Linked DNA regions of Homo sapiens: all the other regions are linked to region 1. Evidence: promoter capture Hi-C in 16 types of primary human blood cells and fetal thymus (Javierre and others, 2016). All regions are on one chromosome and are shown on one strand. The core of a region is centred on a gene start or on the middle of the fragment in contact, and the rest is flanking DNA. Distances in the headings are between cores, read along the strand shown. Region 1 holds the start of NUP160 (nucleoporin 160). Region 2 overlaps PTPRJ (protein tyrosine phosphatase receptor type J). Region 3 overlaps PTPRJ (protein tyrosine phosphatase receptor type J). Region 4 holds the start of KBTBD4 (kelch repeat and BTB domain containing 4). Region 5 overlaps PTPRJ (protein tyrosine phosphatase receptor type J).

Evidence for each region. The method cuts DNA at HindIII sites, captures the fragments that hold promoters and counts their contacts. A CHiCAGO score of 5 or more calls a contact.
Region 2: a contact is called between a fragment that was not itself captured here and the fragment with the promoter of NUP160 in region 1, in 3 of 17 cell types (naive B cells, total B cells and neutrophils). The highest score is 7.5, in naive B cells.
Region 3: a contact is called between a fragment that was not itself captured here and the fragment with the promoter of NUP160 in region 1, in 3 of 17 cell types (naive B cells, total B cells and activated CD4 T cells). The highest score is 10.2, in naive B cells.
Region 4: the fragment with the promoter of KBTBD4 here is called in contact with the fragment with the promoter of NUP160 in region 1 in 2 of 17 cell types (M1 macrophages and M2 macrophages); the score reaches 6.6 in M1 macrophages.
Region 5: a contact is called between a fragment that was not itself captured here and the fragment with the promoter of NUP160 in region 1, in 14 of 17 cell types (total B cells, naive B cells, neutrophils and 11 more). The highest score is 24.9, in total B cells.

Annotation. Positions count from the first base shown.
Region 1 is chr11:47,847,062-47,849,634 of GRCh38, reverse strand. NUP160 (nucleoporin 160) reads left to right here and starts at 1,285. Exons shown (of 36, transcript NM_015231.3): 1 at 1,285-1,416; 2 at 1,676-1,787. The coding sequence starts at 1,317. RefSeq lists an enhancer at 788-1,347. The HindIII fragment of the contact is 7,211 bases long and covers 1-2,573 here.
Region 2 is chr11:48,142,570-48,145,142 of GRCh38, reverse strand. It overlaps PTPRJ (protein tyrosine phosphatase receptor type J), which reads right to left. Exons shown (of 25, transcript NM_002843.4): 12 at 2,093-2,224; 13 at 258-468; 14 at 19-143. Among named protein-coding and RNA genes, the nearest start is that of MIR3161, 47 kb to the right of the region's middle. The HindIII fragment of the contact is 1,208 bases long and covers 677-1,884 here.
Region 3 is chr11:48,121,405-48,123,977 of GRCh38, reverse strand. It overlaps PTPRJ (protein tyrosine phosphatase receptor type J), which reads right to left. Exons shown (of 25, transcript NM_002843.4): 5 at 108-365. Among named protein-coding and RNA genes, the nearest start is that of MIR3161, 26 kb to the right of the region's middle. The HindIII fragment of the contact is 6,799 bases long and covers 1-2,573 here.
Region 4 is chr11:47,577,720-47,580,292 of GRCh38, reverse strand. KBTBD4 (kelch repeat and BTB domain containing 4) reads left to right here and starts at 1,323. Exons shown (of 4, transcript NM_018095.6): 1 at 1,323-1,360; 2 at 2,265-2,573. The coding sequence starts at 1,342. NDUFS3 (NADH:ubiquinone oxidoreductase core subunit S3) reads right to left here and starts at 1,219. Exons shown (of 7, transcript NM_004551.3): 1 at 1,135-1,219; 2 at 959-1,024. The coding sequence starts at 1,201. RefSeq lists enhancers at 446-1,104, 1,173-1,412, 1,105-1,764. The HindIII fragment of the contact is 1,977 bases long and covers 1-1,538 here.
Region 5 is chr11:48,104,512-48,107,084 of GRCh38, reverse strand. The region is part of intron 1 of PTPRJ (protein tyrosine phosphatase receptor type J); the gene reads right to left. Among named protein-coding and RNA genes, the nearest start is that of MIR3161, 9.0 kb to the right of the region's middle. The HindIII fragment of the contact is 3,181 bases long and covers 1-2,573 here.

The DNA of each region.
Region 1 (2,573 bases), core at 36-2,535:
TTACCTCGTGATCCACCCACCTCTGCCTCCCAGAGCGCTGGGATTACAGGCGTGAGCCACCGCGCCCGGCTAATTTTTCTATTTTTGGTAGAGACCGGGTTTCACCATGTTGGCCAGGCTGGTCTCGGACTCCTGACCTCAAGTGATCCTCACGCCTTGGCCTCCCAAAATGCTGGGAGCCACGCCCGACCCGGGTGTATAGTTTTCTCCAGTCATGTTCAGCTACAGATTTGAATGTAGTCGAAGTTGTAGTTTTTACCGATGAAGAGTTAGGCAATGAAGTAATTTAATGGTATTCAGGATAAGAAAGAAACACCAAAGAAGTGTGGGACAGTGAAGATTTTGTAGAACAATGGATTCCAGGTAGAATGAGGGGACTGCACTGCCAAAGTTGGTGTCCCAGAGGGAGTGAAGTGGAAAGATAGAAAATGATGGTCGGAACCAGATAAATGAAACGGAGAATGACAGGGAATGGTTGTGGTCACTGGTAATAGAAGTGCTTTAACTTCTATTGGCTATCACTAAGGAACAAAACCTTCCCCGCTGGAGATTAGCATTTTCCTCGATTTTGAACATCTACTCCCACAATATCTTCTAAACACCCACTATGGGCCCTTACTGCATTGACAGCCAAGTGCAAGATCACGGGTGGAAGGAATGGCAAATTCCTTTCACGTATCCAAGTGAGTAGCACTCAGGTAACCTCAGCAAGTGGCAGCACCAAGGTTTACCACATTACGTTTCATTATACAGGAATACACGAATACAGTCTCTTGGGGAGGGGAAAGACCAAAACCAAAGGCCTTTCCCTCACTACCCCTTCCTCACCCCGCCATCCCAAGTGTCGCCACTGAAGAGCGAAGGGAGGATCGCCAAAGATTTACAGACGGACACCCTAACCGAGGGAGAGGTGACCATAAACCCGGGATCCGGCAGAGGACGCCGAAAGGCCGGGACTCCCCGGACCTCGCCCCTCCTGGTCGACTGAGCCCCGCGTTTTAGAAACAGAAACAAACCCGGCCCCGCCCCCTGCCCTGCGGCCGCTGAGAAAAGAGCACCGCCCTCCGGAGGCGTTCCAGCCGGCCACTGGAAGGTTCCCGCAGATAGAGTCTGCCTCCCCTGCCCCCTTCTCTTCTGGATTCCTCGCTGCCCACCCTCATTCTCCCGGTGGAAGCCTCGCAACGAAGGGCCGGAGCCGCCTTTCTGCTCCCGGAATGCTTCACCTGTCCGCAGCTCCGCCCGCCCCACCCCCGGAAGTGACGGCGACCGCGCGGCCCTGCCTTTGTTCCGTTGGGCGTCGCGGCGACGGCGGGAAGATGGCGGCGGCGGGAGCCCTGGAACGGAGCTTCGTGGAGCTAAGCGGAGCTGAGCGCGAAAGGCCGAGGCACTTTCGGGAATTCACAGTCTGCAGCATTGGTACGGAAATGGCCAGGGAGGGTGCGATCCCATCTGTCCCCTCGGGCTCCTCTCATGGGTCCCAGGGTCCCTGACGCCCTGTTTCATCCTCCTGAGTCCACATGCCTCTAGCCCCGGGATCAGAGATTCCTTGATGTCCGACGTTTTCCTCTTTTCTTTGTATGGGTTGTCAGTCTGTCACTCTCTGCTTTGTCAGCTCCCTTAGTCCCTGTCATTTCTCAGAAGACGCGTGTGCAGGCTGACCACGTTCATTTTGCAGGGACTGCAAATGCCGTGGCTGGCGCCGTAAAATACAGTGAAAGCGCGGGAGGCTTTTACTACGTGGAGAGTGGCAAGTTGTTCTCCGTAACCAGAAACAGGTTCATTCATTGGTAAGTGTTGTGGTTCGCCAAACTCCCCTGGAAGGTAGGGTTTGGTGTATAAATTTTCGTCGCTGTACCCAAAGTGCTATTCTAGAAGCGGTAATTGACACTTAGGGAAAGAGAAAGATTGTTTTTTCAGTTCGTATCAGAATCGGGAAAACTGAGACACAGAGTTCTAGAAGAGATACCTCTCCCCCTCCCCCCCCCCACCCCCACACACACATACACCAAGCAACACCAGAAGCAGAGGAAATGTAGCTTAGGGGAATAAAGCCCATAAGACCAATTTTAAACATGAACCCGTTATGTTTTTATAGTGCTTTACAGCTTCCTTCATTGTACAAATACGTTCGAGCTTCAATATGTCAGGCATTGTGCTAGGTACCAGGACGAAATGAACAAAACTGCAATTTTCATCATGCAAGACGTTGTAGCAATGTCAGAATAGATGTAGACCCACTTTTCATGGGGAAATTTTTTGGAGGAAAACTTGCCCTAGAGGAAAAATATACGGGTTATGAGAGGCTAATAAGAGGACCAAATATAATTAGTGGGGCAGGGAAAGGCTTTAAGGAATTCACAGTTACCCTGAGATCTAAAGGACACGAGGTTAGCCAGGCATGGGGAGTGGACAGAGAGGAGTCCAGCAAGTAGGATCACCATATGCAAAGGTCATGAAGTGGAAAGAATGTGGCGGGTTTGGAACTGACCAAAGATCTGTGTGGCTTAAGTGCAGTGGGTAAAACAGAAAGTGATGTGAGATACTGAGGCTGGAGAGGTAGGCAGGACTCGGAC
Region 2 (2,573 bases), core at 31-2,530, 300 kb before region 1:
CTGTTGTCTTCTCCCTACCTGGATCCTGGGGCAAGGAAACAGCATCTGAGTAGCGACTGAAGGACACATAGCTCTCAGCCCCATCAATGAGCCCCTTGTTTTGAGGGTGGAAGGTAATGTTGGTGAAGCCAGCCACACAAGCCCTGTGGGATAACAAAGAGCAAAAAGAGGTCCCTGAGACGTGTCTGACCGCAGGCATGTAGAGCTTTATGCTCATGAGGCTCAGCCCCCAAAGAGTAAGAACCAGAAGACATTACCGGTAGGAGCCCAGAGGTTCCAGCTTCCCATTGTAATAACCAAGTGTGGTTGACTCATTCCCAACGTCAATTTCATATTTCAAAACTTCAGACAAGCTCTGAGAACGTCCCTTTTCTTCTGTTCTTATGAGGTATGTCACATAAGTATCTGAGGCTCCCTTTTTGAAATCCTCATACGTGTATTTCAGGACATCTGCAGAAGGGTGACCAGCTAAGAAAGGTACACAGAAGGAGAATCATAAGAAAGTGATGGCAGAGAGATTTCTTCTCCTGCATATCTACATGGTGGTGATGTTGGGTGATAGTGATCAGCAACCATCTCTCAAGTATCTCTCTGTGCCAGGTTTGACTTACATTGAATTCTAAGGGTTTCACCTACAGTAACTCACTTCATCCCCATGAATCCCATCACATAAGCTTATTGTCTCCATTTTACAGACAAGAAAACGAAGGTACAAAAGGCTAACAGGACCAGGCACAAGGTCACACTGCCTATGAGGTAGAGTTGGGTTCCCAATCCAGGGCATCGGGCTCAGAGCCCAAGGTTTCATCTAATCACAGGCCAGCACTGGTCAGTCTGGCTGCTATGCAACATGGCCTTCCTCAATGGGACTTGCTGACAAGCATCACAGCAAAATGACTAAGAGCTGGAAACAGACCCAAAATTAAAAGATAGAGATTTCAACCTCACTTTTTGAAATTTTGCCACAGGTTATGGCACCAGCAAATTTCTATCCTCCCAGATCCCTAACCCCGACAGTGTGTTTGGTCTCTATCCTCCTCAAGGACATGAGGACAGCACCACAGTAGGAGAGAGTGGGCAGAGGAAACACTGCATTATTCATGCATAAAGAATCTCCCAGACCAGGCACAGAGGCTCATGCCTGTAGTCTAGTCCCAGCACTTTGGAAGGCCAAGGTGGGAGGATTACTTGAGTCCAGGAGTTCAAGACCAGCCTGGGCAACATGGTGAGATCTTGTCTCTAAAAGAAAGAAAGAGGGAAGGGGAAGGGAAGGAGAAGGGGAGAAGGGGAGAAGGGGAGGAGGAGGAGAGGGGAGGGGGAGGAGAAGGGGAGGAGGAGGAGAGGGGAGGGGGAGGAGGGGAGGGGGAGGAGGGAACCCCCACAACAAAACTTGGGCTTTTAAATCTAGGCCTTATGCAAGCACTCAAACACAGCTACCGAAGAGACTCTCGAATGATTCCTTTCCTACCACAAAAGAATGTAACAGAGCCCTTTAAGGAAAAGCAGCTTTTAATCCACCTCTTCTCTCAGCTAAGGAGATACTCTGCAAATTCCCACTAGCAAATGCAAATCTTTTTCTATTTTCTTTCAAAGGAAAGTCATCCTCTGAGGATGGCATGTGTGTACGTGTGTAGAGTGAGAGAGAGAGACAGAGTTGGTTAAAACTAATATTCTACCACCTAAAAGGCCCAGTGAGGTAAAAGAGAAGAAAAACCTAGATCACAGATCAGCAAGTTATGGGCCACAAACCAAATCCACCTGCCATGGTAAATAACATCTAGTGGGAATGGTCCCACTCATTCCTTCTGTATCTTCTGTGACTGCTTGCACACTACAATGGCAGAGTCGAATGCTTGCAACAGACTCTATACCACCTGCAAAGCTTAAAATATTGGCAATCTGGCCCTTTCCAGAAAGTTTGTCAACCATCAGGCAAATACCTCACCCTCCTTCTCTGTCTGAGTACACAGCATAGGCTGCAGTGAGAAGACAGGCGTGTGTCTGCATTACTCACATGCCTCAGTGGGCACAGAGAAAGCTCTGGTCACTGCATCACTCATGGGCTGTTTAACCCACGGAGGCCTCTCCTTACCTTCCCCGGTGGTGAGAATGACAGCATAGGCTTTGATGGGTCCGTGGCTGGCTTCAAATCCACTGAACTTGACCTTTACTGAATTGTGACTGACAGATGTAATATTAGGGGATCCATCTGGAGGAGGGGGATCTAAAACAAAACAAAACAAAACATGATCACCCAATATTGAAAACCAAAGCAACACATTAGGTAGAGAACATGCTTCAGCAACCTCCTCAAGATCTTACTCTGGAAGCTACATGCTGGGCTCGTGCAAAACAGCAAATCCAGAAGCAAAAGGCAGGGAAGGAAACTGGTGAGGAGCAGAGACAGCAGATCCTGGGAAACCCACCTAGCTCACAATGACCCCTTCAGGGCATCCAGCCAAATCCCCAGGGCAGGCACCCAGCAGCCTTGTTTGGTTTTGCTATTGTTGTTTTGAACAGTACATGCTTTTATTTTATTTTTTAACAGATTGATTGAAATATAATTAGAATAC
Region 3 (2,573 bases), core at 34-2,533, 270 kb before region 1:
AAATTCTAAATCTCCATACACATGGAAGAGCAATTTATTTTTTAGAACATTTAGTTACTGAAAGTAAGAACCAGTAAGGGAGACGGAAGGTACCCTTTGTAACTCACCCAAGCCACCTTCTGTGCCCAAGGGGTCTCCCTTTGTCTTATTTGATTGTAGAAGATACGGGTTGATGTTGTATTGAACCCCTGGCTTCAGGCCCGAGATATTGACCTGAAGTCTTGAGTCTTGAGTCAACTCCTCATGGCTTCCAATGCTTTCAAGAAGAACCCGGCAGGAGGCAGTGCCATTGCCATTGCTCCAGGAGAGAGCAGCCTTCCTCACACCCGTGAGGGCAACACGGAGATCAGAAACTGGGATCGGCTCTATTTTAAAAATACAACATGCATTAATGGAACAAGATATATGCAGTCACCTTCATTAAGAATGACTGGGGTTCAGTGCTGGGAGCGGGTTTTAAAAGAAAAAAAGAAAGAATGACTGAGGTCACTGATGTCCCAATGTGACTCACTAAAAATACTTCCTTTCTATCAGAGCCCAATGCATTTCCATCATTTCACAGCAGGGCTGGGGGAGAAAATAATAACACGGAAGAGAAGAAAAAAACCTTAAAACTGAAATTGTTTAGGATCCACACTGTTCTCCAAGATTAACCCCAATAGTGACTGGACACTCTTCTAAACTGTCCCTTTTAAATGGTAGCATTTAATTGTATGTGTTTTAGATATCAGGAACAAAGCCTCAAATAAAGTGACTGTTTACTAATCTAAAGGTCTCAATTCAAGATAATGCAAATAATATCATTTTAAATTACCAAGACATTTCAAGTAAGCAGCACATTCAATATCCCAGCACCAAGGGGATTTTTCAGAAGACGTTCCATCTCCACTATATCCTGGACCTTCCTCCCATCGCGTTATTTGGTTGATGGTGACATAAGTCAAACCACTTCACCCAAAATGACATGCACTCCCCTCACTTTTCCAATAAGAACACGAAGACCCAGAGAGGCAGGGGGGCTTGCTCAAGAACACACACTCCTGGTAGCAGTGGGGACAGGAGAACCCAGGGCTGCAGCTTCATGTACAGAAAAGCACAGGTAGTGCTGCAGATAGAGCAAAACCCCTCCTGAGGGCTGCAGGGGCCTGAAGGTAAAGACATCGGCCTAGATGATTCTAAGGCACCGTCCAGCTCCGAAACGGTAAGATGATTCTTCACAGCACATGTCTCTCATGCAAAGAGTTCTAAATCAGGTCAGTCATGCGTCTTTTTGTTTTATTAAGTAATGCAGAACCAATAAATTCCCAGCTCGGTGACTGTGGATAGCTGTTATGAACATCACTGCACCACAGTGGTCTAGAGTTAGACTCCGGGTTCCAGCCCCACCACTTGATACTCAGTAACTCTGAGACACCGGAAGAAACTTAACTTCTCCACATTACAGTGTCTTCTGCTGCAGCCCCCAGGGTTACTGTGAGGACAAAATAACATTAAGGACAGAGAGGCACATGTGCCGTGCTCAATACGCAGCAGCTGATGGACCTGCTCCCATGCAGCCCTGTGCTCAGGGCTTTAAGCTAGATAAGGACACTCAGCCCCTCTACCGGTGCTTCCTGCACCTCCGCATCCCCTTTCCCACAGCCACCCCCTCGGGGTCACCTTGTCCTCATGACCATTTCCAAGTTCTATGCTCTTTTCTCTCATTCTCTTCTCTTCTGTCATCTCTCTGTGCTCTCCTTTCCCTCTCTTTCACAATGTAACAGAGCAAACCTTTATGGCAGGTTTTCCCCCCTAAAATAGTGCTCTGAGGAGCTCCAGGAGTTTTGTCAGGGTGCCCGTGACTCCCATTTCTTTGGCTCTTTTCTCTCCAGTTTTTTATTTTTACTTTTTGGGCTCCTGGGCAAGGTTTTGTTTAAAGAAATAGTTTCCTGACTTAAAATGTCGGAAGCCACTGGTTTCATATTTGCTGCTCCACGCTGGACCTCGTTCACCTCCAGCCGTGGGCTCCAAGAGCTCAGGCGCCCATGGCCGACTCCAGCCCCTGAGATCACACTCCCCAGCCCCCTAGATCAGAAAACTAACAGAGGACCTCTTTCTTCAATTTTTGGTTCTCCTCACCTTAAAAAAGTTTCTCCACCTGTTTTTTAAAATGTTTGGTTCTTTTCAGCTTAAAAAAAAAGCTAAGTTTGCAGCTATAATAGATGGCTTCGGTATTGACATCTAAGATAAATCAAAATCTAAACTGTCAAATCTGAATTAAAATTTAAATATCATCAAACTCTTATTTCATTTGAAACACACACTCCCCTATAAAATACACCAAACTTTCCTGCCCAACAGAAACTCCTGGGAATATAAACACAGCATCAATTTCCTGGGAGCTTAAAAGGCTGGTAATTACCATGAAGACACGCGTTTTTAAGGAAGTCTCTACTCCTGAGTCTTAACAGAAAGGTAGGTGTTAACCAACAATAACAAAAGATTTTAAAAACCAAACAGAAGTAGTTAGAACTTCCCAAAACACATAGGGCCTTAATACTGAATGATGTGGCCACCAGAAATCCCAGGCTTGA
Region 4 (2,573 bases), core at 74-2,573, 270 kb after region 1:
TTCACCTCTTCTCAAAATTACTCCACAGTTCTTCCCTCACATTGCCTGCATTTCTGCTAAAGCAGTAGTCTCAGTTCTCCTGTCAGACTAAGAGCTGTTTGAGGATGGGAACTGAACTTTTGCCTCTCTGTAGCTCCTTAGCACGCAAGTTTATACCAGGTTCTCAAGCTAAGAACTTCAGGGCTTGAAGATCCCTCACAGACTCTCTCTCTCCTTAAAAGTGTGTGTGTGTGTGTGTGTCAATGAGAAAACTGAGGCCCAGGTGTGTGTGTGTGTGTGTGTGTGTGTGTGTGTGTGTGTGTGTGTGTCAATGAGAAAACCCAGGAAAGGAGAAATGCCAGGTCTCCTAACTCCCAGTCCGTGTATCTTGACTGTAACATAATATGTACATACTCATTCATGCAACCCTAAACCACTGAGCAATCACACATCACAAGCTACAGAATAATGGTTAGGTGTTTCTGCCTCTGGCAGCAGGCAGGCCTACTTTGTCATTCACTAGGTCTTTGACCCTGGGCAGTTTAATTCTTTGGACTGTTTCCTGATCTATAGTAAGAAGAGTAAGATGCTATCTACCCCATAAGGCTGTTGTGAGGACGAAATAAGATCATTCACTAAAACGCTTAGCGAGGTTCCAGGCACACATTAAGCACTCAATTAACGCTAGGTACTATTATTACAGGGCTCTGAGGCCTAAAGGTTATATTGCTTGCTTTCAAAGAGCTGACAGTTTAATCAGACAAAAAGGGGATGATTGAAATGGACAAGGAACAATCAGGGCCATAACAGGCCTAAGGGCACAGGGAGGGCTCGATTCTGCATGCAGGGTGAAGACCACTGCAAGTCAGATCTCCAAGATTTGCCAGGAGGACGTAGGGAAGGGCATCCTAGGGCAAGGACAGGCATCTAAGGGGCCCCGCCGATAGTTCAGAGAAGAGCGCTGCCCGCACATACTCACGGCGCGTGTCGGCCCCGGCGCTCTCCCGCCTCACCGGCAGCAACAGAACGGAGGGTCGCCCAGTCCCTGCACAGGGAGATAAAAGGCACAGACGCGCGGGATGAGCCCTGAGGAGCTCTCTGCACTGGGCACGCCGCTGCGCCTGACCCCGGTCTCAGCTGGCTGCCCGTGCTCACCCCTGGTCAGCGCCGAGGCCCCCAAGATCCCGCGCCACCACAGCCTGGCTACCGCCGCCGCCGCCATGTTACTCAGATGCAGACTAGGCAGCGGACGGAAAGACAGCAGGACACGGAGCCCCAAGGGCACGGACCGGAAACGGAAGTGTGCAGCAGATCTTCTTCCGGGCGGACGTGGAGCCGGAAGCGGAGGTTCCGGGCTCCGGGATGAAAGGAGGGAACGCAGGTGAGAAAGCGAGACAGGCAGGTAGGGAAATCGTGAGGTGAGCGTGGTCCTAGCTCCTTGTGGCAGAGCCTAGAGAGAAGGCGAGGACGCTGAAGAACCAGGCGGGTGAGAGGAGGGGAGGGGGCGGGCGTTTTGGGTTCTACGCTACACACCCCTCCCCCGCTCTCTGAGCCAAGCTTTTGACGAGGGCGGGCGGGCCTGAGCGGGAAGAACGGTTTCCCTGGCGACCGTTTCCAAGACGACTCAAGGTGGAGCGGGGACATTGCACAGGGTGATGGGCCTCCCAGTGCCCCGGCCTGGGGGCGGATGGACTCAAGTTCTGGGACGCAGCCATAGGGAGTCTTTCGAGCGAGCGGGGAAGTGTGGGGGAAGCAGCTCAGAAGAGAGCAAATGTAAGACCCACGGATATCCCAGGCTAGGCTTCATATGGAGCGTCTTAACTCCATGCGCTGGGAAGGAGAGGACCTGGCCACTAGGCCGGGGCCAGGGGTCCTTTTTGTCTGATTCTACTGCCCCTGAGCTTCACTAGTTTTATGCCCCAGTTATTTGGTTAGTAAGGCTTTTACGATCACAGGCCTCTCCCAGCCCTTTGCTTTCATATATTGACCTAAATCCCAAGTCTTTTGTTAACATTATGGAAAGGAATTATTCCGTGTTTTCTCAGGAAAACACCCAGAGTTGGAACTTTTATTTATATCATTAGCGGAGGGGCGCCACTGGGGATAACGAACCCAGATTTGGTTAAAGGATAGCGTCAGGGACATCATGGACAGGGCCAGGACTAAGGCCAATCTGGACCCACTTTGCTCTCACTTCTTCCTTTTCCCTCCCTGAGTTGGACAGTTGGATTCACAGACTATGGCTGTGAATTCCTCAGGTTACTCAAGATGGTGTTGCTTTGCAGACAGCTGGCAGAGAGAGAAGTTGGCTAGCATGGAATCACCAGAGGAGCCTGGAGCATCCATGGATGAGAACTACTTTGTGAACTACACTTTCAAAGATCGGTCACATTCAGGCCGTGTGGCTCAAGGCATCATGAAACTGTGTCTAGAGGAGGAGCTCTTTGCTGATGTCACCATTTCGGTGGAAGGCCGGGAGTTTCAGCTCCATCGGCTGGTCCTCTCAGCTCAGAGCTGCTTCTTCCGATCCATGTTCACTTCCAACCTGAAGGAGGCCCACAACCGGGTGATTGTGCTGCAGGATGTCAGCGAGT
Region 5 (2,573 bases), core at 24-2,523, 260 kb before region 1:
CCCACTCAAAAACTAAGGCCGGGAGCAGTGGCTCACACTTGTAATCCCAGCACTTTGTGAGGCCAAGGCAGGTGGATCACCTGAGGTCAGGAGTTCCAGACCAGCCTGGCCAACATGGTGAAACCCCAACTCTACTAAAAATACAAAAATTAGCCAGGTGTGGTTGCATGCACCTGTAATCCCAGCACTCTGGGAGGCTGAGGCAGGAGAATTGCTTGAACTGGGGAGACGGAGGTTGCAGTGAGCTGAGATCGCGCCACTGCACTCCAGCCTGGGCAACAGAGTGAGACTCTGTCTTAAAAAAAAAAAAAAAAAAAAAAAGAAAGAAAGAAAGAAAAGAAAAGAAGAAAAAAAAGAAACTAAGTCATAAGGATCTTACCAGCTGCATTTACACCTAAAACTTCTAAAATTTTCCCCAACTCCTCTACATGAAAATCCTACATGTACATACACATCAAAACAGACCCCCTACGTATTCTCCTCTTCCCCTCTCTCTGACATGACTGTGTCATTAAACCTGTCTCCCAGTCTGCAAACCAGAATAACTTCTGGTTCTTCCCTCTGCTTCACTCTTTGTGGGTCACATAAAGATGTTTCCTTGCCCAGCACACCTTGACTTCCCCGCTTCTGTACTGTGCATATTGTAAACCAAGTCTTCATAACCTCCAGCCCTAAATCACAGAAACAGCCTCATCCTAGGGCTGAGAAACACTCAGGCCATTTCCATTTTCATTTCTTGAAGCTCCAGGTGCACACATGTACACACAAAATTAGGAAGTACCAGAACAGGGTTGTATCTACGGCCGTGTATTTTTGGTTTTGCTTCTGTTAGAGCAACGCCCTGACTCGACCTATAACCCCTCATTTGGAATATAAGAGGACTTAAACGGGAGCCTTTTGTGAACACCAGTGGTGACAGCCAGGCCCTACTCCTTCATCCATATACCTGGTTGCCTCTCCCTTCAATCCACAGTAAAAAAATAAATAGAACTGCGAATTTTTCTTTCTGAAACATGCGGTATTAGCCAATATCCTAGCTGGAGCAGATGACACACTCAATGAGGGTGAGTGAGGAGAGTTTTAAAGAGTCTGTTTTCAAGGGTGAGGGTGGGGTTAAGGAAAACCAGTAAGGGATGGGCAAGAATCCTGGGGTAGCAGCAGCGAGGAAGGGCAAGGAGAGAGGCCAAGGCTACCTCCCCTCATCTCCAGCTAGGGTCTCTCGCCAGACTGGCCCACTGGAAGCTGGAGACCAAGGGCACCCACTGGTGTAGAACATAAAGGTCAGCCTCCTCCTAGTGGGCACAGCAGGGTAGAGACAGGCGGGCAGAGTCTCAGGAGCACACAGAGATCTGCGGCACAGAGCTCCCAACACATCACCACTGAAAGCCCGTCAGCCTGACAGGTGTGGACTAGGGTGGTTAAAAGGTTAGTTCAACTTCCACTGTCACTCATGAGCTCTGGCACTTGAGGGTCTCGTGGAGCCATTGTTTTCATCAGTTGTAAAATGACGCAGGGGCATTTGCAATACAGACCCCATATCTGAGTTGTCCTGAGACTCGAACAACACAAGGTTCCTTAATTCCCAGCCTAACAGCCTTCTTCTTGCCTCACTGAACCTCCAAAGCCACCACCCTTCAATTCACTTGGTGACTTCCTGTGACTGCTCCAGCCCCTAGGAGCTCTCCAGGCTCTGAGACCCTCTCCGTCCATGCTGTTGTCCATGCTGCTAATTGTGGCCCTGCAGGGCCCCAGGCCCCAGGTTAGGTGCCAAAGATGCAGAGGGTGCTTAAGGTGGTCCTGACTCCCCAAGAGCTCACAGGCAAGAAAAGCAGTGAAAGATCTGGGTGCGCCAGGACCTGGTGAGCTTGGGGGATGGGGAGGGAGGGGCTTGAGGGATGGGGAGGGAGAGGCTTGGGGGTGCTTCAGGGTAATATGCAGGGGTAGAATGGGAGAAAACAACATAGTGACCCTGTGTGAGAATCTAATGCTGTTCCATTCTACTTATTATAATATTAACTAAACCCTTTGCTACCGTCCAGTCGCAAGTCAGATGTTGTATTTATCATCTCATTCAAGCCTTACAATAATCCCAGCAGGGAGGAACTGTGTTTATCCCCATTTTCCAGATGTAGACACCGAGCCTTGGAAAAGTTAAGGTCCTGACCGAGCATCTTACAGCCCCAGGTCAAGATTCAGCCCAAGGTCAATCGGACCCTGAAGTCCTTGAACTTAACCACCCCCAGGGAGCACTAAGCTGGTTCAACCCTGGGCAGGTCTCAACTGAGACCATGAAACCCAAAGGCAGTTCCAGGGCTGCAGGTCACAAACCCCTGCCTGTCCTGGGCCTTGGGAACAGCCCCCATCAACCCATTTGAATTGACTAAATTAAGGCAGCTTGTACAAGTTTCTCAAAAGGAGCAGTGTTTGGGGATAAATTCACAGGGCAGCTTGGATTTCAGCAAGTGACAAAGCTCTCCAGGTTTTCTGTTATCCACGTTGGGCTTTTAAGGATGGGTAATAAGTGACTGAATAGCACAATGGGTAACAATAGACTCTTTATCCTTCTAAAGCCA